7 separate regions of the Homo sapiens genome follow, and regions 1, 3, 4, 5, 6 and 7 are each linked to region 2. Evidence: promoter capture Hi-C in 16 types of primary human blood cells and fetal thymus (Javierre and others, 2016). All regions are on one chromosome and are shown on one strand. The core of a region is centred on a gene start or on the middle of the fragment in contact, and the rest is flanking DNA. Distances in the headings are between cores, read along the strand shown.

Region 1 (3,945 bases), core at 747-3,246, 420 kb after region 2:
ATGTTTTTAAATGCATAAAATACATAGGATTGCAGGAAATTATTATGAAATAAAATTATCAAAATATTTTATACTTTGTGATGTAATGCAATGTGTATATTTATAAAAATCTAGCAGCTGATTTAATAACTCCTATAGTTTTAAAGTAGCAATGACTGCAAGTAATATTTTATTATACCTACATCTGTAATGCAATGTGAAAATGTTTGCAATTTTTGGTAGTTGCAAAATTACTATAGTGACTTATATAGCTACTACAGTGATTTGTTGTTTATATTTATGGAATCCTAATCTTCAGTCAGATATTAATGAAAATAAATACTTCACTTTTTTTCTCATCGAAAAAATAAAAATAAATAAAAATGTGGTTTATATACGCAATAAAATATTATTTGGCCTTAAAAAAGAAGGAAATCTTTTCATTTGGATAACTTGGATTAACCTTGAAGACATTATACTAAGTGAAATTAGCAATCACAAAAAGACAAATGCTGCATGATTCTGCTTATATGAAGGATTCAAAGAAATCCAACTCATAGAAACAGTGAGTAGAATGGTATTTGGCCCCTTCTACCATGGAAGGGGGAGGGGAAACAGGTAGCTGTTGTTCAACTTTTAGCTCAACTTTGAATCATGAAAGATGAAAAAGTTCTACAGATGTATTGAATTGCAGTGTGCATTTAATTAGTAATACTGTACTGTATGTACACTTAGAAATTGTTAAGAGGGTAGATTTATGTGTTTTTAAAAATATATATTTATGTATCTTTTAGAGAGGGGGTCTCTCTATTTTGTCCAGCAATCTTCTCACCTCAACCATCCCCAGCACACACCACTGCACTGGCCTCTGTGGTGTTTTTTTGTTTGTTTTTCTGCAAAGGAAAAAAAATCGGTCTCGTAAGCCAGACTCTTCTCCTAAAATGCAACCCACTGTATGTGCAGGTGTCATCATTCTATTTGTGCTGCCTGGTAAGAATTAGGCCTCAGGGAATAGGCACAAAATTGCTGATAGCCAGGCTACTGCTATTTTTTAAAAAATAAATTGTTCTTCACCCTTGGTCCTGGAGTTTTATGTATACTACCAAAAGTTGGGTATTTGCCAACTTTACCAGCATCAGTGAGACTGTGTCAGGCTGAGTTACCTTGCAAGTAGGGCAAAATCCAAGACTCTTCAAAGTTTGTGACAAGTTTACAGATAAAATAGATTTTGTTGATTTCCTGATTATTCCTCCATTTCTTGAATAACACTGCTTGGTGATCATAAATTAGTAATTTATTTATTTATTTTGATATGCATAGGGTGAGGCCTGGCAGGGTCCCAAACATGAAGCTTCTGTGTCATCAAGATGCATCACCCTCCTGGCACATTAATTTTTGTCACCAATGAGAAGACTGAGCTTTAGTGTTGTTTTTACTGGGGTTTCATTACACGGACAAAATTGATTAAATCACTGGTCACACGATTGAACTCAATTTCTAGCCCCCTACTCCTCCCTGAAGGTTGGGCTGATTTCACCTTTCAAAAAGCCCAACTCTTTAATCACATGATGTGTCTTTCCATCACGGCGAGCCCACAACCTGAAATAAATTTATGTTTTTATCCCTCGCCACTCCCCACCCTTTCCCCTGAGTCCCCAAAGTCCATAAGTCCATTCTATCATTTTAATGCCTTTGAATCCTCATAGCTTAGCTCCCACTTAAGAGTGAGAACATATGATGTTTAGTTTTCCTTTCCTGAGTTACTTCACTTAGAATAATGGTCTCCAATTCCATCCAGGTTGTTGCAAATGCCATTATTTTGTTACTTTTTATGGCTGAGTAGTATTCATTCCATGGTATGTATGTAATTTCCTAGATTGACTCACAGCCCTCAAGAAAGTGCTATACTTGCAACAGTTTTATTATGGTTTACAGATAAAGTAGATTTTGTTGATAGAAGACACACACAGAGACACACGCACACACGCACACACACAGAGACAACAGCTTTATTATGGTTTACAGATAAAATAGATTTTGTTGATAGAACATATATATATGTATATCTCACATTTTCTTTATCTGCTTGTTGATTGATGGGCATTTGGGCTGGTTCCATATTTTTGTAGTTGATTTGTGCTGCTATAAACATGCATGTGCAAGTATCTTTTTCGTATAATGACTTCTTTTTCTCTGGGTAGATACCCAGGGGTGGGATTGCTGGATCAAATGGTAGTTCTACTTTTAGTTCTTTAAGGAATCTTCACACTGTTTTCCATAATGGTTGTACTAGTTTACATTCCCACCAGCAGTGTAAAAGTGTTTTCTTTTCACCACATCCATGCCAACATCTTTTAAAAAAAATTTTTTTTTTATTATGGCCATGCTTGCAGGAGTAAGGTAGTATCCCATCATGGTTATGATTTGCATTTCTCTGATAATGAGTGATGTTGAGCATTTTTTCTTATGTTTCTTGGTCATTTGTATATCTTTTGACAATTGTCTATTCATGTCCTTAGCCCACTTTTTGATGGAATTGTTTTTTTCTTGCTGATTTGTTTGAATTCCTTATAGATTCTGGATATTATAATAGTCCATTCTCAGATGTATAGATCGCAAAGATTTTCACCCACTCTGTGAGTTGTCTATTTACTGACTATTTCTTTTGCTGTGCAGAAGCTTTTTAGTTTAAGTAAGTCCCATCTATTTATCTTTGTTTTTGTGGCATTTGCTTTTGGGTTCTTGGTCATGAAGTCTTTGCCTAAGCCAGTGTCTAGAAGGGTTTTTCCAGTGTTATCTTCTAGAATTTTTATGGTTTTAGGTCTTAGATTTAAATCTTTGATCCATCTTGAGTTGATTTTTGTATAAGGGGAGAGATGAGGATCCAGTTTCATTCTTCTACATGTGGCTTGCCAATTATCCCAGCACCATTTGTTGAATGGTTTTCTTTGCTTTGTTGAAGATCAGTTGGCTGTAAGTCTTTGGGTTTATTTCTGGGTTCTCTATTTTGTTCCCTTGGTCTATATGCCTGTTTTTTTGTTTTGTTTTGTTTTTTTGAGACAGAGTTTCACTTCTGTTGCCCAGGCTGGAGTGCAGTGGCATGATCTTGGCTCACTGCAACCTCTGCCTTCCAGGTTCAAGCAATTCTCCTGCCTCAGCCTCCTGAATAGCTGGGATTACAGGCACCTGCCACTGCCCCTGGCTAATTTTTTGTATTTTTAGTACAGATGGGGTTTCACCACGTTGCCCAGGCTGGTCTCGAACGCCGCCTGCCTCAGTTTCCCAAAGTGCTGGTATTACAGGCATGAGCCACTGCGCCTGGCCTATATGCCTGTTTTTTATACCAGTACCATGCTGTTGTGGTGACCATGGCCTTATGGTATTGTTTGAACTCAGGTAATGTAATGTGGTGCCTCTAGATTTGTTCTTTTTGCTTAGTCGTGCTTAGGATATGCAGGCTCTTTTTTGGTTCCATATATGAATTTTAGGATTTCTTTTTTCAGTTCTGTGAAGAATGGTTATGGTATTTTGATGGGAATTGCACTGAATTTGTAGATTGCTTTTGGCAGTATGGTCATTTTCATAATATTGATTCTACCCATCATGAGCATGGGATATGTTTCCATTTGTTTGTGTCATCTGTGATTTCTTTCAGCAGTGTTTTGTAGTTTTCCTTGTAGAGGTCTTTCACGTCCTTGGTTCAGTATATTCCTAAGTATTCTATTTTATTTTTGCAGCTATTGTAAAAGGGGTGGAGTTCTTGATTTGATTCTCAGCTTGGTCATTGTTAGTGTATAGAAGGACTATTGATTTGTGTACATTAACTTTGTATCTTGAACTTTTGCTGAATTTATTTACCAGTTCCAGGAGCTTTTTGGATGAGTCTTTAGGGTTTTCTAGGTATATGATCATATCATTGGTGAACAGTGACTGTTTGACTTCTTCTTTACTGATTTGGATGCCCTT
Region 2 (3,439 bases), core at 516-3,015:
TTAAGGTGACTATTCCTTTAGGTTTGCCTGGGATAAAACTGATATAACTCCTGGTCTCTGGCTATAATTATTAATGCCCTACTTTACTTCCAAAAGTGTTCCATATTGAAGGATAGAGTATATGGTCATTTACTACCAATTGTGTCGCTCTCCCTCAGGTACCTCTAATGCAGGGCTCAGCAATATGGCTTATAAGTTGTTTTTGCACCTCTCCAGAACTAAAAAAAAAAAAATTTACATATTTCAATGATTTTCTTAAAAATCAAAAGAATATTTCATACCTGAAATTATATTAAAAATTCAATGTCCATAGTTTTACTGAAGACAGCTACACTCATTCAAGTATTGTCTATGGCTGCTTTCTCGTTACAAGGTAGAGCTGAGTAGTTAAGGCAGAGACTTAAAATATGATCGGGCCCTTTACAAAAAATGTTTGCCAACCCCTGCTCTAATGTCTCCCCTAGCTCTGAGTCTCCTCACCTCACGCACAAATACCCTAGCCTACTAACTGCTTTCCCACTCTTTCCCCAGCCTCTAATCCTTCAGACACCTGGTTGCTATACAGCCTCTCTACAAGAGTGTCGACCCTGTCACTTGCCTCGTCAATATCCTCAGTGACTCCTACAAAACCGACAGTGAAAGGTTCAAACCTATTCTATGAGACTCAAGACAACAGACAACAAAGGGCAAGAGAGAACACGTCAAACGAGTTCGTCAAACGAGTTGAGTGCGTGAGACTTCAGAGGTCACTTTTTCACACTAGAATTTCAAGGTGTGAGAGGCTAAAAGACGTCCAAGTACATGAAACAGAACCTGCAAATAAGAGTGAATGACGAATAGAAAGACCACCTCAACCTGTCCACTTCCCTACGGCCGCAGAAGTTATGATTCAAGGAATAATGAGACTCTAAATCCTTTAAAATTCTACAAGAGCAGCCTTTGCCAAACCCAGCGGGGAGTGGCTGCTCGGTGCCAGCGCGAGGAGCACGTAGACTGCCGATGCCAGAGAAGCCCGGTGCGGGTTCCGTGCTTTCTCTCCGTTCCAGGAAGACCCCAGCTCGTGGCCAAATCTTCTTGCCGCTTCCCGGTCTGCGCGCCTACGCTGCCGGTTTCCCGACAAAAGCGACGGCGCCCTGGTGAAAAGCAGACGCCCCTCATCGGTTTGCGCCTTGCAGCTCAACTATGCCCCAGCCTCCCACAAGCCACCTGCCCGCGTCCTCCGCCAGGCGTCCAGCCCGGACCTGCCCCCGCGGCCGCCAAGGCGCACGTGAAGCTCCCGGGCGGGGGGAGCGCAAGGAGGCGGGAGTTTGCGGACGCGAACGCAGGCCTAGGAAGGGAAGCGATTCCAGGGCGCACGCGCAGAGCCTGGAGACTGGGCGGGGCGTGCCTCCCGCAGGGGTTACGAACGAAAGGCGAGCGCGTGGCGCTCAGGAGCCCGCGCACGCGCTGTGGTCTCGCCCCGCCCATGAGCGTCCGCGCGGCCGTCGTAGCATCTTTTCTTCAGACCCGCCCGGCTCGTCTACTTAACCTAGCGGAGGCTTGGAGTGAGAGCAGGGAAGTGTGGGGCGAGGTGGGCGGGGCGTTGCACGCGTGCGCGGCCAGCGAAAGAAGGGAGGGGGCGGGAGATCCGAGACAACGTTACCCCGTCAACACCCAATCAGGAGCCGGCCTGACCCCGCCCCCTCTTCTCACGTTATTGGCTGAGAGGCCCCCAGATGGGCGGGGCCGGCCGTGGGGTTGGGGAGGGCAGGGGGCGGGGAGGAGGAGGAAGGCGCTGGCGGGCAGTGATGGCGGCTGGTGATGGGGACGTGAAGCTAGGCACCCTGGGGAGTGGCAGCGAGAGCAGCAACGACGGCGGCAGCGAGAGTCCAGGCGACGCGGGAGCGGCAGCGGAAGGGGGAGGCTGGGCGGCGGCGGCGTTGGCGCTTCTGACGGGGGGCGGGGAAATGCTGCTGAACGTGGCGCTGGTGGCTCTGGTGCTGCTGGGGGCCTACCGGCTGTGGGTGCGCTGGGGGCGGCGGGGTCTGGGGGCCGGGGCCGGGGCGGGCGAGGAGAGCCCCGCCACCTCTCTGCCTCGCATGAAGAAGCGGGACTTCAGCTTGGAGCAGCTGCGCCAGTACGACGGCTCCCGCAACCCGCGCATCCTGCTCGCGGTCAATGGGAAAGTCTTCGACGTGACCAAAGGCAGCAAGTTCTACGGCCCGGGTGAGGAGTTGGAAGGGGAGGGGAAGGACCCCCTGCAGCTGAAGCACAACCCCCTTCGGACAGGGAGGCCTCTGGGCACCGGGTTAGTTTGCCCAGCCTTCTCGTCTCCGGGACCCCCGCGCCTCGGCCGCCGCACCTGGGACGGCCCATCCCGCCCCTACACACACACCGTCCCCCCGCAGCTACGGGCACCTCCAGTTCTTCCCCCGAAACCAGGGTCCCCGGTGGCGCCCCAGAGACCAGCTCTCAGCATTCATCTTTCTTCCATCCCATTTCTCCTCGCAGCCTTTTTTTTTTGTTTCTTTGGCTGGATTTTTCAAAATCGTTTTAGTTGTCACAGGTCAACGCTGGCCCTTAACCTTTTTTGAGTCTCCTGATTCCTGGGATGGATGGGGCACCAGGGAAGGGAGATTTCTGAAGTTGGGACCTAAACTAAAGTTTTGGGCTCTGTAATTCACCGTTTTCTTTTCCTTGCCCCCTTTTTTTTTTTTTTTGCCACTGATCTCCTTTTTTCCCTCGCTGTATTACTCCGTAAGGCCACGTTTAGGGGCATGTAAAGTCCCAACCCTCCAGTCTCTGAAGTCCAGACGTATAAGCAACACCTCGGACTCTCTTTAAACCAGTTTTAGTTCGGAGTTGCTTTCCATGATTAACAAGGTATGTGGGATGAGAACAGACCAGAATGCAGAGCTTATTAAAGACTGGTAAGGATATTCACCTTGAGTTTTGGGGGTGGAGCTCCTATACCCAGCAGGCGTGTCTCTGGTTTCTTTTTTCTTTTTTTTTCTCTTTTCAAGTACACGTTGATAATGACTTGTGTTTTCACTTAGCAGAACTAAGGAGAAAAAACTTAGAAGAGTTGTAGATTTATACCCCCATGTGCCAGTTATGCAAGTTAAAGATTTTTAGAACTTTGTTTTGAGAGAACTTTGTTTTCAGGGAACTTTGTGTAGGGTAGTTGATTTAGACGCCCTTTTTTTACAGTGTGGTTGTAGCATACATTTTGGATTATGTTAATAAACCCCAGACTCATGGAACCTGTTGGTATATCATACAGTTGAGCAACATTGTGCATCCTGGTTGTGCACTGATTAATACTAAGCTTTAAAAAAAAGTGGTGACTACAATAAGAATAAATAATTAAATTAGAGACCTAAAGTGACCTGTTATTGGAGAGAGTACCTCCAAGCCTTAAAGTCATAGGGTTGGCAGTCTGGAAGTAAGCTGGTTTTCT
Region 3 (3,446 bases), core at 488-2,987, 270 kb before region 2:
ACAATGTCAAACAATCCAGCCCACATTTGAAGGAAGGATAAAAACTAAGATTAATGTGAATGAAATGAATAAAACCAATCACAAGTCAGTGGGCCTCAGGATGTTACATAGTAATATGTCATAAGTATAATATTTTCTTTTCTTTGTAGAATTAGATGCTAAACCTAGAAGATGAAGTTATTTTCATGAAATCATTTCTGAACTACTGATTTTAGACACAACTCCTCTTATAAGTACTCACCATTCTGAAAATAAATGCTTAGTTTGAAGTTATTCTGTAAGAATATGTCCTCATATCTAAATTACCCCAAACTTTACATTTTTTTTAAAAGAGATGGGGTCTCACTCTGTTGCCCAGGCTGGAGTGCAGTGGCATGATCATGGCTCACTGCAGCCTAGACCTCCTGGGCTCAAGCAATCCTCCTACCTCAGCCTCCCGAGTGGCTGGAACTACAGGCATGTGCTGCCAGATCTGGCTAATTTATTTTTTAACTTTTTAGAGATAGGGTCTTGCTATGTTGCTCAGGCTGGTCTTGAACGGGGGCTCAAGCGATCCTCCTTCCTCGGCCTCCAGAGTAGCTCCGATTGGATTACAGTCATGAGCCACTGTGTCCAGCTCACAAACTTTATATTCTCAAGGCTTCACATAATGAGGCTAAAAGGTTCTTGTATATTCTCAGTCATTTTAGAAGAGACAGAGGGAGTTGGCTGAAGGAAAGAGTTCCTCTTACCCTGAAACCTTCGTTACGACAGACAAACGTCTGGCAGCTTCAGCCTTCCACAGATACCTTACATTTACATAGTATCTGGCAGTGTTCAAAGGGCTTCAGTAATGGTGCAGGAGTTACAGCCTTGAATCAACTGAGGAGGCAGAATCAACCAGCTCCAAGACTATTACAGACAAGCTTGTGGCCTCCAGCAAGCCATGCAGTCTCTCTGAGCTTTAAGCTCCTCATTTATAAAACAAGGACATTACATATACCATCTCGACATCTTTTCTAGGCCTAGGATTCAGCTGTCTTGCCCTCCTAGCAACGGAGTAATACAATGCCGCCACTCTGGCAACTGAGCAGAGGTTGGGGAGTTTGGCAAGCTGAAGAACATGTTTATGAGCTCAGAGCATGGTTAAGGCTGACGTGCAAGTCGTTCAGACAAAGCAGAAAGAAAACCACTTTCAGAATACTCTTTGTGATGTGTATGCAATTTACTTCCTAAAAAAAGACAGAGTATTTTCACGGCTGGTGTGAGTCCAAACTTGCCATAGTCTCAGGCAATGCGTCTGGCTATTTTAAAGTGCTAAGAAGTTTAGTGACAAGTGCCCTTCCATTTCATCTTTTTCAGAATTATTAGGCTTTGGGGATGAGGAGAAGATGTGGGGGAGGGGAAGCTTGAGTAATCCTTTCAGGAGCTTCTTCTTACTTTGGCACACGGACAGTTCTCAAGAGGAAAGAAGATTTTTTTTTTTCAACCATATAGTTTTCCATGAACAGGAAATTCATAGCAAAACATTTCCCTTTGTTTTGAGGTAGTCACCACACCACAACACCCAAGGGCCCATCCTGAGAGAGTCATCTGTAGATCTTTGTATTTTAGCCAGCATTCCTTGCCATATTGTTTATATAAAACACACACACCCCCCTAAACTCATACATCTAAATTCACACATGGAGGAAATTTAAATGCAAATATTTTTTCATATACCTATATATGTATACTAAAAGCAAGTTCATATAACAAGATTAGTCACAATTACGTAATATAAAAATTCTGACCTTGTTCAAGTTACCCTAAGAATGTAGTACTGTGATTGTCAACTAAGGTCATGGGCACTTTGGTATGTCTGAGAAAGCTCTGTAAGTGTGCTAACAAATTTTGAACAACATGCAACATTGATTTTGGTGACATCTGCGTAGGAAGCCTGTTCTTACGATGTCCATCAGATGGACCACAGAGCTCAATGAGCAGAGGCAACATGATGTAGAACAAAGGAGCAACTTCTGGGAATAGAACATAGGTGGTGACCACATGAGGCCTGGAGAATATAAGTCAGATCAATACATTGTTCTATTCAACAGTAGCAAAGCTTATCACTTTTCTTATCACTTTAAAATTGATAAAATTTATTGATAAAAGTGATAAAGTTTTTATATTATAGAAATGATTGTTTTATTTTAAATTTCTTTTTTTTAGACAGAGTCTCGCTCTATCACCCAGTCTAGAGTGCAGTGGCACGATCTCGGCTCACTGCAACCTCCGCCTCCCAGGTTCAATCAATTCTCTTGCCTCAGCCTCCCAAGTAGCTGGGACTACAGGTGTGCATCACCACACCCAGCTAATTTTTGTATTTTTAGAAGAGATGGGGTTGTGCCATGTTGCCCAGGCTGGTCTTAAACTCCTGGCCTCAAGTGATCTGCCCACCTCAGCCTCCCAAAGTGCTGGGATTACAGGCCTGAGCCCTGGCGCCCAACCAAAATGATTGTTTTATAATTGTTGTTGACTTGTTCATTTTTAATTTCTTCAAATACACTGATAAGAGTCTTAACATTTGCAAATATGTTATAAACACAAATAAGGGTAAGAAGCATCGTTATAAGAAAGCATTTTGGGTTTGGTCCTGACTTTCCTACAGTGTCCCAAACATCAACACCCCTTATGCTCTGGTGTGTCTCCTGGGGCTGCTGAGCAATCCAGGTGCCTCCTGAGCTTGCAGAGGTCATAGAATAAGGCTCTGCCAAGGAGGGCTTGAATGTCTGCTGAAGGGGCAGACATTCCCCCTATCTCTTATCCAGGGAAAAGGGGTCCCTGGATGGAAAAAGGGAGCCTGAGATAGATAGAAAGGGAAGACTCATCACTCTCTGGGACCTGGCCTATGGCTAAGTGGTAGAGGTTGATGATTTCCTCCAATAGAGGCAGAAACACAGTTAAGAGTTGAGTCTTGCAAACCAGATAGTCCATTTTTATGTTCTCCTTAGTATGTAGTTTTCTTTTGTTATCCCAAACTTTTTGGTGCCTAAAAATTTTGTTTAAAAGTTCTAGTTTGCAAGGCACAGTGGCTCATGCCTGGAATCTCAGGCTTTGGGAGGCCAAGGTGGGGGGATTGCTTGAGGCCTGAAGTTCGAGGCCAGCCTGGGCAACTGAGTGAGAACCCTTCTCCAGAAAAAATTAGCTGAGTGTGGTGGCATATGCCTGTAGTTCCAGCCACTCGGGAGGCTGAGGTGGGAGGATTACTTGAGTCTAGGAGTTCAAAGCTGTAGTGAGTTATAATTGTGCCAGTGTACTCCAGCCTGGGGAACAGAGCGAGACCCTGCCTAAAAAAAAAAAATAGTTCCAGTTTGGTCACAGCCATGCTGTGTGTTTTGGAAAATAAAGGAGACAGTTGAGTTTACCTTTGGATTAAACATTATTGGAGGAGTGTTCTGCAGAGATTAATGTGGGGACAACAGCAC
Region 4 (3,636 bases), core at 216-2,715, 420 kb before region 2:
AAGTTACCAAAGTAATTAGGGTACTGATCTTTTGTTCTCCCAGGCAGCATTCTCAAAAGTCTTGAGGACTTTTTTGTTCTTCACTTGGCTAAATGTAGAAAAGTTTCTTGTTTGACTGTAATAATGTTTCAGTTTTCTAGGTAGGAGGTGTTTTTCCTGATTTCTAATAAGTATCAAATTGTTGTAATTACATTATTTGCAGTTTATGCTCCTCAGAACTTGTTAGGGCTTCTTCCTTCCTCTGACACTGAAACTTAACTTTCAAAAATTGTTCTTTCTTTTGATATCCAAGGAAAATAATTTGAATGATGATGCTACAGTGGTTTGGACTTTTAGGTTCCTTTTTCTCTTTGGATTACAAGGTTGACACTTAAAAAAAAATCTATGGGCCAGGCATGGTGGCTCACTCCTGTAATTCCAGCACTTTGGGAGGCCGAGGTGGGCAGATCACCTGAGGTCAGGAGTTCGAGACCAGCCTGGCCAACATGGAGAAACCCGTCTCTACTAAAAATACAAAAATTAGCCAGGCGTGGTGGCATGTGCCTGTAATCCCAGCTACTCGGGAGGTTAAGACAGTAGAATCGCTTGAACCCAGGCGGCGGAGGTTGTGGTGAGCTGAGATCGCACCATTGCACTCCAGCGTGGGTGACAGAGTGAGACTCCATCTCAAAAAACAAACAAACAAAAAACACAACTATGACTATTGTGGGCCTTCACAACTCTGAGACATCTCAGAGTAAGTTGACAAGCTTTTGTTGGCCAAAGAATGGGAGTTCCCTAGGACATCTGATTCTGTGAAGCTGTTCAGTAAGTTGGGAATTTTATCTGGAGCACAAAGTACCCAAACCCATTTTTTAAGTTAAGAAAGTGTGGTTTTTAAAAAAAATAGATTCACAAAATCTTAGACACACTTCTATGATTTGAATGTTCGTATCCTCTCCGAATTTTATGTTGAAACTTGCTTCCCAATGTAACAGTATTAAGAGGTGGGGCTTTTAGGAGATGATTAGGCCATGAGGGCTTCACTTTCATGGATAGGATTAAGGCCTTTATAGAACTTGAAGGAATGGGTTGGTCCCTTTTTGCCTTTCCATTTCTTCTGCAACATGAGGACACAGCATTCATCCCCTCCAAAGTGCCCAGCAACAAGGCACCATCTTAGAAGAAGAGATTGGGCCCTCATCAGACATCCAACCTGCTAGTGCCTTGACCTTAGATTTCCAGCCTCCAGAACTGTGAGAAATAAATTTCTATTCTTTATAAATTACCCAATCTCAGGTATTTTATTATAGCAGCTGGAAGAGACTAAGACACACACCTCCTTCAAAAGCTGTAGCCTAATTCCTCTCCCTTTGAATGAATGTGGGCTGGACTTAGTGAACTGCTTCTAATGAATAGAACATGGTAGAAGTGATGTCATGTTATAGCCAATGCTAGGTTATAAAAAGGATTATTTCTGCCTGGCTCTCACTCTAGTAGATCACTTGCTCCGGGGAAAGTCAGTTGCTAGGTCATGAGAGCACTCAAGTAGCCCTGAGAGAGTCTATGTGGAGAAAATCTGAGCCCTGCCCCCAAATCCAAGTCACGTGTGTGAGCCATCTTGAAAGGGGATCAAACCTTCAGATGACTGCAGCCTCAGCCAATAGCTTGATTCTAGTCCCATGAGAGACCCCAGGCACCCACTTAAGCTGCTCCAGAACTCCTGACTCATAAAACTGTCAGAGATAATAAATGTTTATTGTTGTTTTAAGCCACTAAGTTTTGGGGAAATTTGTTATGCAATAATAGATAATGAATACAGGCAGCAATTAGCAGAGGATACTGTTCTATTCTTGAAACCCTCTAAATGAAAATAACAATTAATGTACAATCAGATAATTATTTTTCCCCAGCTATTTACATTTTATTCTCATTCATTTGAATCACAGAAATTCCACCAAAAATGCTCAGAATCTCTACTTTTCCTTGCATCTGTACACATTTGAAAGGTTGATATGTATTATTTGCATGTGAATGCACGGATGTGTATGAAATAGGAACACCAACAAATAATAATAATAATAAAAAGAAAGGAAGAAAACTGAAAGTGAGGTACAAGAGGTACAAGCCCCCTATTCTCTTTAAATATTTTATACCTTTTATCTTTTCTGAAATACTTTTTTGTCTTGGAGAAAAAGCTTCCAAGCATGCCGATTGCTGTGGCTCAAGGTCCTAGCTTACTGTAGGACCTCTTGCTCCTTAAATGAATTTCTGGTAAGTCCTCATCTTTTGCCCTCTGACAAAAGTATCTTCTATGGCACAGATCTGAGTGTATCACCTTTTCACTTAAAAATTTTCAAAAGTTACTTATTGTATACTAGATTGAGGTCTGTCATTCCCCTGTAACACCCACCCCAATGCCTGCCCCACATACATAGTTGTGTACAGAGCTCAAAACAGGACATGTCTGGGAGAATGCTTTATAAGCTGTAAGGCATAGACAAGTATGAGGTATTCTTCTCCTTAACATTCTGTAATACCTCATAAAGTCTCCCATTTTCTAGGAGATTAGAATCTGCTGGCAGCCTGGGTTTAGTAGTATCTTTCTTTTTGGTGATAAGGTTTACTGGAGTCTTTTGAATTAACTGCTCTTTCCTACATAGCACAAAACCACTATATTTTCCTATCCCTTTGCCAATCTTTTTTGTTTGTTTGTTTGTTTGTTTGTTTGCTTTGAGACGGAGTTTTGCTTCTGTCACCCAGGCTGGAGTGCAGTGGCGCAATCTTGGGTCACCATAACCTCCACCTCCTGAGTTGAAGCGATTCTCCTGCCTCAGCCTCACAAATAGCTGGGATTACAGGCATGTGCCACTGCCCTCAGCTAATTTATCTATTTTGGTATAGACGGGGTTTCGCTATGTTGGCCAGGCTGGTCTCGATCTTCTGACCTCAGGTGATCCAACTGCCTCGGCTTCCCAAAGTGCTGGGATTATATGCGTGAGCCACTGCACCTGGCCTCCTTTTGCCAATTTTAATGATGAACTTGGAAATCTCTACTCATTTTTTGTTTCAAGAGAATTTCGAAAGCAAAGGCAAGTTCAACTCCTGTGAAGTTGGCTGTTAATGTAATCTATCTGAAATGGTGGATGGGAGTTGATGAATAGCATCTTTCTGCAAACAAGCAAACCATGAATTTCGTAAGTTTTAGGTCAAGCTGAAATTATATAAGGCCAATCATTTTTCAGCATTTCATTAACTGGGTGGGATCTTTGGTAATTTTTTGAATCTGTGCCAGTTACTAAGTTTTTTCTTTTTCTTTTTGTTTGTTTGTTTGTTTTTAGGCAGAGTTTCGCTCTTGTTGCCCAGGCTGGAGTGCAATGGGGCGATCTCGGCTCACGGCAACCTCTGCCTCCCGGGTTCAAGCGATTCTCCTGTCTCAGGCTCCCGAGTAGCTGGAATTACAGGCATGCGCCACCACGTCTGGCTAATTTTGTATTTTTAGTAGAGACAGGGTTTCTCCATGTTGGTCAGGCTGGTCTCGAACTCTTGACCTCAGGTGATCCACTCGTCTCGGCCTCCCAAAGTGCTGGGATTACAGGCGTGAGCCACTGCGCCCGGCCCTCCAGTTACTAAGTTTTTACTCTCAACTTTAAATCC
Region 5 (3,989 bases), core at 1,089-3,588, 320 kb after region 2:
AAGACGCCTTGTAGGGAGTGTAACTATGGCCGGCCTGCGGAACGAAAGTGAACAGGAGCCGCTCTTAGGCGACACACCTGGAAGCAGGTGAGCGGATCCTGGTGGAGGGACCCCTCAGTCTCCTGCGCTGTTGGGACTGGTTCCTTTCCGGGCGTCACCCGCACTGGGACAAACCCTCGCTGCCAGAGGGGTTCCAGCGCGGTGGGAGCCGGTGGCTGGGTTGTGTGAGCCGAGGAGATTCGCTCCCAACGTAGGAGAAAGGGCGTCTGGCCGCACCGTGCGGTGATGAGCCCGTGGGTTCGAGTGACGGGGCTGGAGAAACCCAGGCTGCTGCTTTGCCTGTTGCAGCACCCAAGCTGAGAGGTGACAGCGTGCTGGCAGTCCTCACAGCCCTTGCTCGCTCTCCAGGCCTCCTCTGCCTGGGCTCCCACTTTGGCGGCACTTGAGGAGCCCTTCAGCCCACCGCTGCACTGTGGGAGCCCCTTTCTGGGCTGGCCAAGGTGGGAGCCGGCTCCCTCAGCTTGCAGGGAGGTGTGGTGGGAGAGGCGTGAGCGGGAACCGGGGCTGCGCGCCGCGCTTGCGGGCCAGCTGGAGTTCCGAGTGGGCGTGGGCTTGGCGGGCCCCGCACTGGGAGCAGCAGGCCGGCCCTGCCGGCCCCGGGCAATGAGGGGCTTAGCACCCGGGCCAGCGGCTGCGGAGGGTGTGCTGGGTCCCCCAGCAGTGCCAGCCCACTGGCGCTGCGCTCGATTTCTCGCCGGGCCTTAGCTGCCTTCCCGCGGGGCAGGGCTCGGGACCTGCAGCCCGCCATGCCTGAGCCTCCCACCCACTCCGTGGGCTCCTGTGCGGCCCGAGCCTCCCCGATGAGCGCCGCTCCCTACTCCACGGTGCCTAGTCCCATCGACCACCCAAGGGCTGAGGAGTGCGGGTGCACGGCGCGGGACTGGCAGGCAGCTCCACCTGCAGCCCCGGTGCGGGATCCACTGGGCGAAGCCAGCTGGGCTCCTGAGTCTGGTGGAGACGTGGAGAACGTTTATGTCTAGCTCAGGGATTGTAACTACACCAATCGGCACTCTGTATCTAGCTCAAGGTTTGTAAACACACCAATCAGCACCCTGTGTCTAGCTCAGGGTTTGTGAATGCACCAGTCGACACTCTGTATCTAGCTACTCTGGTGGGGCCTTGGAGAACCTTTCTGTCAACACTCTGTATCTAGTTAATCTAGTGGGGACGTGGAGAACCTTTGTGTCTAGCTCAGGGATTGTAAACGCACCAATCAGCGCCCTGTCAAAACAGACTACTCGGCTCTACCAATCAGCAGGATGTGGGTGGGGCCAGATAAGAGAATAAAAGCAGGCTGCCCACCAGTAGTGGCAACCCGCTGAGGTCCCTTTCCACAGTGTGGAAGCTTTGTTTTTTCGCTCTTTGCGATAAATCTTGCTACTGCTCACTCTTTGGGACCATACGGCTTTTATGAGCCGTAACACTCACCGCGAAGGTCTGCAGTTTCACTCCTGAAGCCAGCGAGACCACGGGGAGGAACGAACAACTCCAGACGCGCCGCCTTAAGAGTTGTAACACTCACCACGAAGGTCTGCAGCTTCGCTCTTGAGCCAGCGAGACCACGAACCCACCAGAAGGAAGAAACTCTGAACACATCTGAGCATCAGAAGGAACAAACTCCAGACGTGCCACCTTAAGAGCTGTTAACACTCACCGCGAGGGTCCGCAGCTTCATTCTTGAAGTCAGTGAGACCAAGAACCCACCAATCCCGGACACAAAGCCACCACATTCTGTATCTTCTGCATTCCATATTTGGCCCTTTGTAGCTGATCACTTTCCAGATTTCACAGTTTCAAAATGATGGTTTTAATAGATACTTGAAGGTATCGGTCTTAGTAATGACCTGCTGCCTAATTGCCTGACAACCTCTTGATAGTTTAACAAATCTGTCCAAAATGAGCTCGCCTTTGTCCTATGCCAAATGTACAAAGAAAGACTAATTTTAAGGCATTAAAGGAATAACGTCAGTATTTTGATCCTTATAATTCTGGTTGTTCTGATCCTAGTTTATGGGCAGTGACTCGGGAATGTATACCTAATGTATTTTTACCTTTAGGAAAACGGAATTACTATTTTATTTGAAATATACATAATAATTACCTCAGGTAAATTAATAAATTCAGTTAAACTTCAGCTGTCTATGACCATAATAATTTTTACTCATTTGTTCCCCTTAAGCACCAACCTTTTGTGAGCACTCTAACTCAAAACCCTTTGGCAAATGTATTTCTCTGGTCCTCGATTTACTAAACAGAGTTTATGCAATGCAGTTTTATCTTTACTTGATTTTATCTTGAGATCATTAAAATGAGTTTAGATGCTGATATGAATTTTAGTAGAGTGATGTCCTGAGAGCCTATTGAGACATTTGGGACTGTTTGCTTCTATACCAATTTATTTTACACTGCTATACTTTTTTTTTGAGACGGGGTCTTGCTCTGTGGCCTAGTCTGGAGTGCAGTGGTGAGCCTGGAGTGCAGTTTTATCTTTACTTGATTTTATCTTGAGATCATTAAAATGAATATCGATGCTGATATGAATTTTAATAGAGTGATGTCCTCAGAGCCTATTGAGACATTTGGGACTGTTGCTTCTATACCAATTTATTCTACACTGCTATACTTTTTTTTGAGACGGGGTCTTGCTCTGTGGGCTAGTCTGGAGTGCAGTGGTGCGATTTTGGCTCACTGCCACCTCTGCCTCCCAGGTTCAAGCGATTCTCCTGCCTCAGCTTCTGGAGTAGCTGGGATTAACAGACGTGGGCCACCAGACACGGCTAATTTTTGTATTTTTGGTAAAGACAGGGTTTCACCAGGTGGCCAGGCTGATCTGGAACTCCTGACCTCAAGTGATCCACCCACCTCAGCCTCCCAAAGTGCTGGTGTAGAAGCAAACAGTCCCAAATGTCTCAATAGGCTCTGAGGCCCGTTGCTATACTTTTTAAGTACTTACGTCTGCTTTTTAGTTTTTCTGACAGACTGTTTTCCTCGCAGACTGTTCTGCATCATGTTTTTGAAATCTGGCAGCAACAGTTGTTTTATTGTTGTTGCTGTCACCATACTCTTTCCACCAGCTTTAATTTGGGGCTTCTTGTTTGTTATAGCTTTGATAACCCTGGATCTATGCTTAATGTAACTGTGTGTCATTACAACCTGGTAGTTCTGACTGAGAGCTAAATGTCTTTCCTACTAGTTAAGTGCATAAGCTTGAGTGCGTGGACTTCATGACATTTGGTTTTCTCAGAACTCAGAAATTCTTTTTTTTTTTTTTTTTTTTTGAGACGGAGTCTCGCTCTGTCACCCAGGCTGGAGTGCAGTGGCGCAATCTCGGCTCACTGCAAGCTCCGCCTCCCGGGTTCACGCCATTCTTCTGCCTCAGCCTCCCGAGTAGAGTAGCTGGGACTACAGGCGCCCGTCACCACGCCGGGCTAATTTTTTTTGTATTTTTAGTAGAGACGGGGTTTCACCGTGTTAGCCAGGATGGTCTCGATCTCCTGACCTCGTGATCCGCCCGCCTCGGCCTCCCAAAGTGCTGGGATTACAGGTGTGAGCCACCGTGCCCGGCCTCAGAATTCTTTTTGCTTCGTCCTGGTTTTTAGCTATTTTCCAGATAATTGCAGGATCCCTGAGTTATGTTTAAATGTGGTCTTCTGGTACATTCTGTCACCTTGTACAAAAGAGAATTTTTTTTCATACTCTTAGCTTTGATTTCATCAAAGTGATTGATGCTCATTAGGATCTGTCCAGATTTAGGTGTTCCTGCCAATAATCAATACCTCTGATTGAGGTTCTAGATTTAGCATTTTAAAAACAAAAAGGGAGTATTTTGAAAATAATAAGTATATGTCTTTAAAAACAAGTATATTCCCTAGTAAAGTGAACCTATGTACAACTAGTTGGCAGGACCTGTTCACTTTGAATATATTGCA
Region 6 (3,690 bases), core at 435-2,934, 480 kb before region 2:
GAGTTTCACTCTTGTTGCCCAGGCTGGAGAGCAATGGAGCGATCTCAGCTCACTGCAACCTCCGCCTCCCAGGTTCAAGCAATTCTCCTGCCTCAGCCTCCATAGTAGCTGGGATTACAGGCACCTGTCACCACGCCCAGCTAATTTTTTGTATTTTTAGTAGAGACAGGGTTTTACTATGTTGGCCAGGCTGGTCTCGAACTCCTAACCTCAGGCAATCCACCCGCCTCAGCCTCCCAAAGTGCTGGGATTACAGGCATGAGCCACCATGCCTGGACAGATCTTATGGGTGTTTTAAAAATCTCTCTCTGGCTGCCATGAAATAGACTATGGAAGCAAGAGTTAGTTCTGTTTAAGAGGTTATGATAACAATTCAGGTGAGACATGATTTATATTAGAATGGTGCCATGAGAATGGAGAAAGTGGATGAATTAAGGTATTTTGAAGGGAGAACTAATGAAACAAATGGATTGGGTGTGAGGGGTGAAAGAAGAAAGGAATTAACATGAATCCTAGATTTCTGTTTGAGCAACTGGGTGGTTAATGGGGTTTGTTATCTTATCTGTATCATTTTTGATAACTGAGTAACTGCAACTCCAGAACTAAGAATTTTGCTTACATATTAAGAAAAATTTCAAAGCCAAAACAAAAACTATTTTTGATATTGAATTTTCTTAACTTTTACATACATACTTTCCTTCAAGGGATAATTGAATGAAAAGGACTTCTTTGCAAACTTCAGACTAGCCCTATAGTGAATGGAAATAATCTTCTTCTCTTCAGAATAATAGCTTATGCATGCTTTCTGACAGTGGATTGCCCTCTTAGGGCTGCCATTTTGTCCTGAGATTTGATGACTCTGGTTCTCCCTTTAGGAGATTGCTATGAAAAGGCAGAGAACCATTGGGGCCTGTTCAATAGGGCACACCTGGCTCTCTCCGTCTCCCTCATCAAGGCCTGTGGGGCATGATGAGAACTGGCATCAGCCTACTGATGCTGAGATTTGTTTTGAAGCATTCGAAGAGGAAGCGAATGCTCAGGGGAAGCTTTAAATTTCTTTCTACTTACAGAAGTTGAATTGCAAGAGCTATCTCTTTACCATTAATCACCAGGTCTAGTGTGAAGCCAGCCAACTTCAGAGAGTTAGTTAAAAGAGATGACTAATGACTCAACTCTCTCCTTATCTCACGCTCTCTTCAGGTTTGATCTCACCAGACACTCAGGCTGCACTTACCCACTTGAACAAGAGCTCTTCCAGTGTTCTGCAGTATTGAGGGAGTTCTGCGTTTAAAGGGGCCTGTCCTGTACCCCCGTCCAACTGACTGATGGGGAACTTCAATGCCCAGCCTGGGATATAAGTGGGGCCGAAGGTGGAAGAGTGAGAGTACCAGGTCTCTATACATGTCCAACTTGACCGTGATGGTTTAGGCATGACCTAGAATCCCTAGGAGGTCTTGATCATTTCAGTTTAAAATGACTCTTATTATATAGGGAATCTTTTTTGAAGTTAGTTCTTCTAAAAGTCTGCTTTTGGTCTCTGCTCACGGAGTTCTGTAAGAACTTATTTTAGAGATAAGCTTTCAAGGCTATCCCAATTGTTCCAACTTCAATGATCAAAACATCTGAGACTGTGTTTTGATTTGATTTCTTTGTAGCTATTTTATCACAAGGTTTTCAGAGTTTTAGATTATACTAAGCAATTACTGGTTACCTTTCCACAGATTCATTACAAAACCCCTGATTATATATAACCAAGTATTGCTCTCTCAATAATATTCCAGTGAAGCTTGTTGTTCAAATCTTATACGTTTCCAATGATGTCTTCTCTCCCTCATAAATAAGGGGCTCCCTCTGCTCCCCTCCACCAGGGCTGCTCACTCCCAAGAGGCCTTTTCCGGCTTCCAGTCAGGTACATCTTAAGTAATGAAGTCAATAGGGAAGAATCAAGGATGGAAATGTACCCAGTTTATGTCGATGGACTTGTTTAACTATTTAAGGCTGTATCTCACAGTCTAGTGTGTTGCAGTACGTTTTGTAAAGAGTGCTTGTAATCCCCTGAGCTTTCAAAATAGCTCTCTTTCCTATTAAGCCTGCATTGAGAAATGGGGTTAATTTGCCAGAGTACTTTTTTGTGATAATGACAGGACTTGCAGATTAGCTTGAGTGAATTGGCAAGGTTCTGTAACTAATAAAAAAATACACAAAAAAATTATAAAATTCGACTGCTTCAAGGTTCCTCATGAGAGAAACATTAAATATTCCTGATAGGCCAGTTTTGAGTCCACGCTAGCACATTAATAGATACTTAGGGAAAGATACCTTTCAAGTGACATATGACCCAACATTCCCATAACAGGAACTGTTCTGCTATTCAGAGGCTTGAAACTTATAGTAGTTGAACTAATAACGGATAAATTTCGTGAATTAGAAAATGCCTAATAAATTTTTTAGGTGATAATTATTTTGCCAGCCAGGCTATACGGCTCTTTGCTTTATTAGACCCATATACGAAATATTAAAATTCTGCCCTGAACTCTAGGAACACATTGCCATTTACTTAATGAACATGTGTTAAGTGCCTACCGAGTGTTAGGTACCATGCTAGGATCAGAAGATGAAAACCCCAACGTGTAATCCTGTCTGAACACTGGTGCTAAGAGATTCTGTAACCAACATTACTTTGGATTGGTTAAAACTATCTTTCTAGTTGCATGTGGTTGAACTTTGAGGACTGGGAAAGAATGGGTCCACTGTCCTAATGGTTAGAAGCCTCTGGCCATCAGTGTTCATTACTGGCCATTTATTAGCTGCCTTGGGAGCCTCGGGGCAGGTTCCAACCAGATACATAGTTATATTAACACTGGAAGGTGCTAAGACATCTGCCTTCGAGTTTGGCAAGCTCACTCATAACACCAAAGGAAGAGAAGAGAAACACTTTCTGTGTCTCTGAGCAAAGACCTCTTCTGTGTTTAGCAAAAACCAACCAAACCAATCAAATACTTCCTCAGCTGGAAGACAAGAAAGAAAACTTTTTTGTTATACATAGAGGGGGATGGGTCACATTTTTACAGGGTTTCATAGACCACTGACTTCATGACCCCCCCTTTTTTTTGTGATGACCCTTTTTTTGAGAACAGTTTTAGATTTATAGAAAAATTAAGACAGTAGAGAAAGTTCCCATATCACTTCTACCACCTCCCTCAGTTTCACCTATTATTGTATATTACCATTAATGACAAATATTAAAACATGATTAATATCTAAAATCCATACTTATTTAGATATCCTTACTTTTTAACCTAATGTCTTTTTTTGGTTTCAGGATAGTACATTATATTTTCGTGTCTCCTGAGCCACCTCTTGGATATGATAGTCTCAGAATTTCTGTTTTTTCAGCCGGGTGTGGTGGCTCATGCCTGTAATCCCAGCACTTTGGGAGGCCTAGAAAGGCAGATCACCTGAGGTCGGGAGTTCGAGACCAGCCTGACCAACATGGAGAAACCCCATATCTACTAAAAAAATACAAAATTAGCCAGGCGTGGTGGCACATGCCTGTAATCCCAGCTACTCGGGAGGCTGGGGCAGGAGAATTGCCTGAACCTAGAGGCAGAGGTTGTGGTGAGCCGAGATTGCGCCTTTGCACTCCAGCCTGGGCAACAAGAGCAAAACTCTGTCTCAAAAAAAAAAAAG
Region 7 (3,628 bases), core at 1,009-3,508, 500 kb before region 2:
GCCTCAGCCTCTCGAGTAGCTGGGATTACAGGTGCACGTCACCATGCCCGGCTAATTTTTTGTATCTTTAGTGGAGACAGGGTTTCACCATACTGGCCAGGCTGGAAACTGCACCTCTTATTTTATTTTATTTCATTATTTTTTTGAGACAGGGTCTTGTTCTGTCATCCAGGCTGGAGTGCAGTGGCGATCACGGCTCATTGAAACCTCTGTCTCCTTGGCTCAATCAATCCTCCTACCTCAGCCTCCTGAGTAGCTGAGACCACAAGCACCCGCCATCACACCTGGCTAATTTTTTGTATTACACCTTCTCGCATAATGTAGTGAAGACCCCTCTACCATCGTGGCTGGGCCTTGGACGTTAGTGACGAGAGTGAAGACATCCTGCCAGAAGTTCATCCATTTAGGCCCTGAGTACTGCAGGAAGGAGTGGGAGACAGAAGTAGGGAAAAAGGAGCCTTGGCACAATGCCAAGGATCAGGAGGGGCGATCACCCACTGGGATGACAAGAGCTGCGGGGCTTTTGCCTGCGTTACGGAGAAAAATGCTGAGAGACCAGTGATTCAGGGCTGAGTGCACAAGTTTTACTGCCAAATGGGAAACCCAATCCAGTATAGTTAGACTGCGAAGATGAAGTTGGGGGAGGAGAAAGGCAGTGGGTCTTGTCAAGCCAAGATTCCACCCGTGGTCTGGGTCACTTATCAGACAAGCGGTACCTCTAGCCTTGATCGGCTAGCGATTCCTGGACTTGTGACCTGAGCCTGCTGGCTACCCTGGGTGGGATTTGAGAATAAGCCTTATCTACTGGGCCAGCCAGGAACGGCTGTGGCTGGAGACCGCAGTACTGTATCGGGGCCCTGAATGTCGGAGCTGTGCTTTGAAGCTGTGCCCCGGACTGCTGGTCTGGCAGGGCCTGGGTGGGGAAGAGGAGGCCTGCAGAGAAAAGTTGCAACCCAGAGGTCAGGGCAGCTCATCTTTGGTTGCTAAAACTGCGTGAAGGGCAGCAAAGTCGGGAACCTCGCACGTGCCAGTGTGGAGAGCAGGCCACCTCACTCCAGCACTCCAGGCTTTTGAGACTTCCTTCCTGCATCTGGACACCATCCCAAGCCAAGAGCACCAACTGAGAGTTGGACTTTGATAGAAGACAGAAAAATACAGTTAACAGGAAATTTAAGAACACTCTTGCCCCACATCCAAGCTGGGCAGGGGGTTTAGGAATAAGACCAGTTACAGCAAGTTTTATTTATTTATTTATTTTTATTTTTATTTTTTTTTTTTGAGTTGGAGTTTCACTCTTGTTGCCCAGGCTGAAGTGTAATGGCACAATGTCGGTTCACTGCAACCTCCACCTCCTGGGTTCAAGCGCTTCTCCTGCCTCAGCCTCCTGAGTAGCTGAGATTACGGGTGTGTGCCACCACAACTGGCTAATTTTTTTTGTATTTTTAGTAGAAACGGGTTACACCACGTTGGCCAGGCTGGTTTTGAACTCCTGGCCTCAAGTGATCCACAGGCCTCAGCCTCCCAAAATGCTGGGATTACAAGTGTGAGCCACTGCACCCGGCCCAGTTATAGCAAATTTTAAAACAGTAATATATTACAACCAAAAATGAAATGTGAGGCTCTGCCACTCACTATTAATCAGTGTTTGGCTATGTCTTCATTGTACATTGATCAGTCATGTCACTACAATGTGGTGAATTTGCAGCTCTTATGCTCAGGATCCTCTTTGGGTTTTTACTGTACTCTTTGCTTAATACAGCCACAATTAGTTCTGCAGGTCAGTTAGGAGTCCCTTGGACGATCAAAGAGCAAGTTAATAAAGAAAGACCATTACGCCACGGGCTCAGCTCCTTCGGAGAGACAAGAATCATGCTGTGAATTGGTATTAAGGCCAGTGCATCATTTATTACATGCACAGAGCACAGTGAGGACAAGGGGTTCCTGGGGACAGACAAACCCAGACAGGGGCATGGCTTCTGCTTCCCTTCCCCCATCCTGCGGCTTCAGCACTGAGGGGCTCATAGCACTGGAGCAGCTAGCCTCGCAAGGCAGCTAGAGACAGGCCCAAGCTTATTCAGTCAGGGCCTGACCCATCAGCCAAAATCTCTCCCCAACCTCCCCTTCCTTATCTGCCATCCAATTCAATATATTCCCTCAAAGGCGGCTTTTGCAAATAGAAAAAATTATTAATATTCAGGTCAGCGTGGTGGCGTGCACCTGTAGTCCCAGTTACTCTGGAGGCTGAAGTGGGAGGATTGCTTGAGCCTAAGAGATGGAGGCTGCAGTGGAGCCGAGAGCATGCCACTACACTCCAGCCTGGGCAACAGAGTGAGACTCTGTCTCAGAAAAGAAAAAAAGAAAGAAATTATTCAGAAGTTGCCTGGCTTTGAAAATTAATATTTGACTTTACAAAATCAAAACCTTCGAGGATTTTTCTGTAAGCTTATAAATTCAACTTATAAATTGTACAGATATAGCTAAATTTAATCACTTTTGAGGAGGGTTTTGATTAATGTTTGGTCAAATTTATACATTTACTTAATTGGTGGGGCGTGGTGGCTCACGCCTGTAATCCTAGCAGTTTGGGAGGCCGAGGCAGGTGGATCAATTGAAGCCAGGAGTTCGAGACCAGCCTGGCCAACATGGCAAAACTCTGTCTCTACTAAAAATACAAAAATTAGCCAGGCGTGGTGGCACATGCCTGTAATCCCAGCTACTTGGGAGACTGAGGCAGGAGAATTGCTTGAACCGGGGAGGCAGAGGTTGCAGTGAGCCGAGATTACGCCACTGCACTCCAGCCTGGGCAACACAGCAAGACTCTATCTAAAAAAAAAATAAAAACAGCTGGGTGCGGTGGCTCACATCTGTAATCCTAGCACTTTGGGAGGCTGAGGTGGGCAGATCACCCGAGGTTGGGAGTTCGAGAGCAGCTGACCAACAAGGAGAAACTGCGTCTCTACTAAAAATAGAAATTAGCTGGGCATCCTGGCACATGCCTGTAATCCCAGCTACTGGAGAGGCTGAGGCAGGAGAATCGTTTGAACCCGGGAGGCGGAGGTTGTGGTGAGCCGAGATCACGCCATTGCACTCCATCCAGCCTGGGCAACAGGAGTGAAATTTTGTCTCAAAAAAATAAATAAATAAAATAAAAACATACAGAATAGGCTGGGTGCGGTGGCTCAAGCCTGTAATCCCAACACTTTGGGAGGCTGAGGCAGGCGGATCACCTGAAGTGGATAGTTCGAGACCAGCCTGACCAACATGGAGAAACCTTGCCTCTACCAAAAAAATACAAAATTAGCCTGGCGTGGTGGTACATGCCTGTTATCCCAGCTATTCGGGAGGCTGAGGCAGAAGAATCACTTGAGCTCTGGAGGCGGAGTTTGTGGTGAGCCGAGATCGCGCCACTGCACTCCAGCCTGTGCAATGACACTGAAATTCTGTCTCAAAAAAATTTTTTTAAATAAATAAATAAATAAATAAATTTACTTAACCTACTTTAAGTATTTTATCTGCATTTGTAAACTTAAAGTAATTAATTTATTTTGTCAAGTACTTCAGTTGTATGACTGACAAAAATTCCTTTTCAAGTATTTATGTGATTCATATATATGCAATCGATTAATCT

What was found. The method cuts DNA at HindIII sites, captures the fragments that hold promoters and counts their contacts. A CHiCAGO score of 5 or more calls a contact.
Region 1: a fragment that was not itself captured here is called in contact with the fragment with the promoter of PGRMC2 in region 2 in 1 of 17 cell types (total B cells); the score reaches 5.2 in total B cells.
Region 3: a fragment that was not itself captured here is called in contact with the fragment with the promoter of PGRMC2 in region 2 in 2 of 17 cell types (megakaryocytes and M1 macrophages); the score reaches 9.0 in megakaryocytes.
Region 4: a contact is called between a fragment that was not itself captured here and the fragment with the promoter of PGRMC2 in region 2, in 1 of 17 cell types (fetal thymus). The highest score is 5.6, in fetal thymus.
Region 5: a fragment that was not itself captured here is called in contact with the fragment with the promoter of PGRMC2 in region 2 in 10 of 17 cell types (non-activated CD4 T cells, neutrophils, naive CD4 T cells and 7 more); the score reaches 13.6 in non-activated CD4 T cells.
Region 6: a fragment that was not itself captured here is called in contact with the fragment with the promoter of PGRMC2 in region 2 in 4 of 17 cell types (activated CD4 T cells, non-activated CD4 T cells, total CD4 T cells and 1 more); the score reaches 6.2 in activated CD4 T cells.
Region 7: a fragment that was not itself captured here is called in contact with the fragment with the promoter of PGRMC2 in region 2 in 1 of 17 cell types (non-activated CD4 T cells); the score reaches 7.7 in non-activated CD4 T cells.

The regions. Positions count from the first base shown.
Region 1 is chr4:127,866,338-127,870,282 of GRCh38, reverse strand. No RefSeq gene overlaps it. Among named protein-coding and RNA genes, the nearest start is that of PLK4, 13 kb to the left of the region's middle. The HindIII fragment of the contact is 1,328 bases long and covers 1,333-2,660 here.
Region 2 is chr4:128,286,139-128,289,577 of GRCh38, reverse strand. It overlaps PGRMC2 (progesterone receptor membrane component 2), which reads left to right and starts at 1,765. Exons shown (of 3, transcript NM_006320.6): 1 at 1,765-2,205. The coding sequence starts at 1,788. RefSeq lists silencers at 470-764, 1,136-1,325, 1,646-1,825, 1,836-1,885, 2,066-2,125. The HindIII fragment of the contact is 4,970 bases long and covers 1-3,309 here.
Region 3 is chr4:128,557,140-128,560,585 of GRCh38, reverse strand. No RefSeq gene overlaps it. Among named protein-coding and RNA genes, the nearest start is that of LINC03140, 12 kb to the left of the region's middle. The HindIII fragment of the contact is 696 bases long and covers 1,390-2,085 here.
Region 4 is chr4:128,709,616-128,713,251 of GRCh38, reverse strand. No RefSeq gene overlaps it. Among named protein-coding and RNA genes, the nearest start is that of JADE1, 98 kb to the left of the region's middle. The HindIII fragment of the contact is 1,428 bases long and covers 752-2,179 here.
Region 5 is chr4:127,961,170-127,965,158 of GRCh38, reverse strand. It overlaps MFSD8 (major facilitator superfamily domain containing 8), which reads left to right. Exons shown (of 12, transcript NM_001371596.2): 1 at 1-87. The coding sequence starts at 26. Among named protein-coding and RNA genes, the nearest start is that of MFSD8, 2.0 kb to the left of the region's middle. RefSeq lists enhancers at 1-169, 1-179 and silencers at 620-669, 680-809, 920-1,029. The HindIII fragment of the contact is 1,861 bases long and covers 1,408-3,268 here.
Region 6 is chr4:128,766,066-128,769,755 of GRCh38, reverse strand. No RefSeq gene overlaps it. Among named protein-coding and RNA genes, the nearest start is that of JADE1, 42 kb to the left of the region's middle. The HindIII fragment of the contact is 209 bases long and covers 1,580-1,788 here.
Region 7 is chr4:128,785,080-128,788,707 of GRCh38, reverse strand. No RefSeq gene overlaps it. Among named protein-coding and RNA genes, the nearest start is that of JADE1, 23 kb to the left of the region's middle. The HindIII fragment of the contact is 373 bases long and covers 2,072-2,444 here.